Regions from separate parts of the Homo sapiens genome. Here region 1 is linked to region 2. Evidence: promoter capture Hi-C in human tissues and cell types (Jung and others, 2019). All regions are on one chromosome and are shown on one strand. The core of a region is centred on a gene start or on the middle of the fragment in contact, and the rest is flanking DNA. Distances in the headings are between cores, read along the strand shown.

Region 1 (2,700 bases), core at 29-2,528, 520 kb after region 2:
TGCAGATCACTGCAACCTCTGCCTCCCAGGTTCAAGTAGTTCTCCTGCCTCAGCCTCCCGAGTAGCTGGGATTACAGCATCCACCACCTCGCCCAGCTAATTTTTGTATTTTTAGTAGAGACAGGGTTTCACCATGTTTCCCAGGCTGCTCTCGAACTCCTGACCTCAAGTGATCTGCCTGCCTCAGCCTCCCAAAGTGCTGGGATTACAGGCGTGGGCCACTGCGCCCGGCCCCAACTTCTTTATAAAGGTTTTGTTACTGAACATTTTGGCACTTAATAAAATTATCTAAACCTCCCAAGAGAGTGACAACACTTGACAAACACATACAGGCACACCTCCCTACCCTGGGGATGACTTATCTGACATTCCAGTTACGGTGCACGAAGCCAAGAATCCCTAAGTAGCAAATAAAACCTTTCAACCATTGAAGTAGAGTTATAACTTCCAGACACTAAAGCTGGAGTTCGTCTTTTGCCTATTTAATCTATATATTTTTTATTTTTTAGAGACAGTGTCGCTCTGTCACCCAGCCTAGAGTGCAGTGACATGATCATAGCTCACTGCAGCCTCAAACTTCTGGACTGAAGCAACCCTCCAGCCTCAGCCTTCTGCATAGCTGGGACTACAGGTCCCAGCACACCACCATGCCCAGCTAAATTTTTTACAGAGACGAGGTCTCACTATGTTGCCCAGGCTGGTCTCAAACTCCTGACCACAAGCAATGCTCCTGCCTCAGCCTGTCAATATTTTACCTGTATTTCTCATCAGCTTGGTTTTTTGGTCATGGTTGTTAATTTTTGAATTATATGAAAGTCCTACATAGAAGGTTCTCTCCTGGTGTTTTGGCAGATGTAAGAAAATTGATTTCGTTTGTAGCTGTTAATTTGAGAATCCATTGTAGATACTAGCAATTTCTGAAGGAATAAGAGATTCACACTTTAATGGGACTTCACAATCTTTCATCTAAAAATTCTAGCTCCTGGTAGGGAGACAAGTTCCAGACCCACAACTATTAGAAATATGTTAATAAACTGGGCCCCGGATTGAAGCATGTCTAAACAAACTATGGAATTTAATAATGTCCGAATAATGTGGAAATAATGTTTTCAGTGGAATAGGATGAGGCTGGGTGTGGTTCTCACACCTGTAATCCCAGCACTTTGGGAGGCCGAGACGGGCGGTTCACTTGAGGTCAGGAGCTGAGAGCAGCCTGGCCAACATGGTGAAATCCTGTCTCTACTAAAAATACAAAAATTAGCCGGGCATGGTGGCAGGTGCCTGTAATCCCAGCTGCTAGGGAGGCTGAGGCAGGAGAATTGCTTAAACTCAGGAGGCGGAAGTTGCAGTGAGCCAAGATCACAACACTGCACTACAGCCCAGGCAACAGAGCAAGACTCTGTGTTTGTTAAATAAATAAATGGAATAGGATGAAACAGAAAAACATTGTCATTTTTTGAAAACTCTGAAATAATCTATTCTAAAGTAATTCAATTGAAATAATAAATTCACTTTGCATTCTCCTTTTGCCACAAGATTCAAATATTTACTAACTGGCATCAACACTGGTGTTCAAATTCAGTATTGGCAATTTCACACTTGAAGACTGTCTGTGTTCCCAGAGAGTGTTAAGTCTAACTTTGAGGTCCACAAATATTTATTGGTGTCTGGTGTATGCCAGCAACTGGGAAAACAATAGGAGGTGGTTCCTACCTCAAAAAGCTTGCAGTTTGGTGAATTTACAGTCTAGTAAGACTAGACCTACGTAAAAGATACAGAGCAATGCAAAACAGTAGATGTCAGATGCCATTTGACTAACATACGCGTTAATTGCTGCAGGATTTCTAGGGAAGGAGAATCTGGTGGGCTGCAGTAGGAGAAATTGGAAAATAATTTACTATTCTCCATTGACAGTGGCAGTCAGGAACCTGGGAGCCCAATTTATTTGTCCCCTCAACCCAACTCAAATGGGTCCTCCCTTGGGAACTTTGCTGCCAACTTGCTCCTCTTCTAAACCCCTCCCCAGGCACAGTCTATCAACCCCAACTTTGCAAAACTTCCATTTTTTGTTCTTAACTATGCTAAAGTACTCACAATGCATTGCAATTGTTTGTAAGCCTGTCTCCTCTACAAGATTCTGATTTCCTGTTTTGTTATGTTCATCTTTGAATTCCCCTACTGCTTAGTATGATACATACAATATTGTTAGTGTCCCCAAAAAGTGTTTTTTTGTGAATTAAAGAAATGAATGAATTCACAATGTATGACTTGGGCCTTAAGGAAGATGGCATTCCTACATCTTAAAATTAGTAAACAGCATACCTTTACCAGGCACATGTTGATCAGAAATAAAGGAAAGTAAGTAGCCTGTAGAACTGGGGTGCTCAAACACCAATTTTTCTCAGGATTACTGAAAAACTTAAATATACAGGCCAGGTGTGGTGGCTCACGCCTGCAATCCCAACATTTTGGGAGGCTAAGGCAGGCCGATTTCTTGAGCTCGAGTTTGAGAACAGCCTGGGCAACATGGCGAAAACCCATCTCCACAAAAAACACTAAAAAAATTAGCTAGGCATAGTGGCATGCATATGTAGTTTCAGCTACTTGGGAGGCTGAGGCAGGAGAATCGCTTGAGCCTGGGAGGTGGAGGTTGCAGTGAGCTGAGATGACACCACTGCATTCCAGCCTGGAGTCAGATCC
Region 2 (2,700 bases), core at 35-2,534:
TGATTGGTGCTTTTACAATCCTTTAGCTAGACAGAAAAGTTCTCCAAGTCCCCACCATCCCAGAAGCCCAGCTGGCTTCACCTCTCACTGGCACTAGCCACGGGACTTTGTGGCACCTATCCGGAGCACCTAGCCCGGGCACTCCAGCAGCCTAGAGGGAGCTCGTCCCAGACAATCAAGAGCAAAAGACGGGAAGCAAGAAAGAGATGGAGACCCGCCATCGTGGCCAACGTTCTGGTCCACGCACGGGATTCAGCCTCTGATCAAGCCCCAGTTCCCGCCCACGCCTCTCCCTCCACACCTCCCGGCAAGCAGAGGGAGCCGGCTCCGGCCTCGGCCAGCCCCAGAGAGGGTCCCCCACAGCGCAGCGGCGGGCTGAAGGGCTCCTTGAAGACGGAGAGAGCTGAAGCTGAGGCTGAGGAGGCGCCAAGAGCGAGCCAGGGCTGCTAGCAAGTTGTCATCTCTCATTACTAGCATTCTCTCAGGAATATCCTACCGCAGGGTTCCCGTGTTTCATATACAATTAGTGATGAGGCTAATCATCCTGATCTCAAATTTCCTCTACCTGCCCACCAGCTGACTTAAACCCCTATACTGTGGGCATGCATTCTGCCCACTCTGAAATCTTAGGATTTAACTTCTCTTGCTTCCTAGAAAATGAACCACTTTGTTCCTTTAGTCATTTATTCACTAATAATTTGTTGAGAGGTTTTGTTTTGAGGAGCATGAAGGATCTGATGTAAGAACTACCACCGGTGCTGGTGATCACAATATATGCAGCTGATTAAAGTTCCTCATTTATGCTACCTACATCCCTGGTAAGAATTTCATTCCTTCAACCAATACTTTTCATTTGAAAGCATCTCATTACGAAAGACTTCAATCTTTTAGGCTTCTGCATCTTGCAAAACAAATATGGTTCCAAAGAGCCTATCTTTTCAACAAATCTTTGGTTTGAGCCTGGATGAAACAGTTATTACAGAATCAACTGGAGAGGAAAAAATCTTCATCTAACACTGAAGTCTTTCTATTCTGCGAGGTGAAATCCTTTGACCTAGATTCTGTCCCTTGAAAGGCAAGTGACAGTAGGTGAGCCTAAGAAAATTGGTTAATTCTTGATCTAAAAAGTTAAATTCATGAACCACACTGATTTGATTACCTTGAAAATCTACCAGACAGAAAGTTCTCCCTTTTATCCACCTTCATTGTTACCTTCAGAGCAGCTCTCTCCATAGCAACTGAAAACTTTTCTGGGCTGAAATAATCCTCTCTAGCTCCCAGTGCACAGTCAAAGAATTTTAAAAACAGGGAACTTTGTAACTGTGAAATACTCTCCAGGATTTAAAAGGCTGTGGAGCTCCAGATAAAGAATCGTTTATCTTTCTTCTGAAGGTAAGCACTGGGGTTAGAAATGCTTGCATCATCCTCTGTCACTTTTAAATTGCTAACATAACAACCTTAAAGTGTTGTTGTTGTTTTTAACTCATAAAAGTAATCCCAGTACCTTTGTTACTAGCCCACAGTCATTTACCAGCTCATCTCTGGGCCAGGATCGGACATGAGATGCTGTTAACATTTTACATGCCTTAAGCCATCAACAGAAAGATAATTTTTTTTTCCAGGAAGTTGATTGGCTCTAAAGTCATCCCCCACTCCTTTAGTCACCACTGAGTGAGTGTGTGTGTGTGTGTGTGTCATGTTCTTGAGGTCTCGAAATTCTGTTTTTCTAAGATGCTTCCTGCTCTAGAATCTTGATTCTTAGTAAACTAAAAAAAAGACCTGTGTTTTCTGAACATTACTATTTTCTTCTAGTGCTTTTCCTTGTCTAAAACTCTTTTTTTTTCTTTTTTCTTTTTTCTTTTTTTTTTTTTTGAGATGGAGTCTTGTTCTGTCGCCCAGGCTGGAGTGCAGTGGCACGATCTTGGCTCACTGCAACCCCCGCCTCCCGGGTTCAAGCAATTCTTCTGCCTCAGCCTCCCATGTAACTGGGACTACAGGCACGTGCCACCATACCTGGCTAATTTTTGTATTTTCAGTAGAGACGGGGGTGTCACCATATTGGCCAGGCTGGTCTCAAACTCCTGACCTCGTGATCTGCCTGCTTCAGCCTCCCAAAGTGCTGGGATTACTGGTGTGAGCTACCGCGCCTGGCCTAAAACTTTTAAACTCAACATGATGTTGGTCATTTAGTAGAATTTATTTTCTCTTTTTCATGAGGACCATGAATCACTTGGAGTTCTTTATAATGGGATAAACATAAGGTGTTTCCCAACCTGGGTCCTATAACTTGTACCACCTGTTGGTAAATGGAGAAACTTACGTGACGCTATGTTTAGTTTAGGGAGAGAGAATCTAGCAAGCTTTTTGGCTGCTGTGCAGTTTGAAAGTCTACAGCCATGGTGCTTTCCTGCCATTTGGGGTTAGAAATTACCTACAGACCCCCGCTGTGTAGAAACAGCTTGTCATTGCAAATCAGCTTAGCCACCCAATTAATGAATCCTTTCAAACATGTTGCAGGCACAATAATTGAAGGCTTTATTTTTCCCCTTTACCACAGAAATTCCTTTGGTTACAAGTTTACCCCATAAACGGCAACACACTCACCTCCATCCAAGACAGACTCAAGGTGGAGGAAGCGTGGAAATGTGCTTCCGGACAAAGCTCTCAGTATCCTGGGTGCCATTGTTTCTTCTACTCAGC

Evidence for each region. Contacts are between HindIII fragments. The study calls those that stand out against the background at their distance.
Region 1: a contact is called between a fragment that was not itself captured here and the fragment with the promoter of SLC39A12 in region 2, in 1 of the 25 tissues and cell types used here (bladder).

The regions. Positions count from the first base shown.
Region 1 is chr10:18,465,748-18,468,447 of GRCh38, forward strand. The region is part of intron 3 of CACNB2 (calcium voltage-gated channel auxiliary subunit beta 2); the gene reads left to right. Among named protein-coding and RNA genes, the nearest start is that of CACNB2-AS1, 72 kb to the right of the region's middle. The HindIII fragment of the contact is 7,793 bases long and covers 1-2,700 here.
Region 2 is chr10:17,950,634-17,953,333 of GRCh38, forward strand. It overlaps SLC39A12 (solute carrier family 39 member 12), which reads left to right and starts at 1,285. Exons shown (of 13, transcript NM_001145195.2): 1 at 1,285-1,392; 2 at 2,558-2,700. The coding sequence starts at 2,644. The HindIII fragment of the contact is 7,346 bases long and covers 1-2,700 here.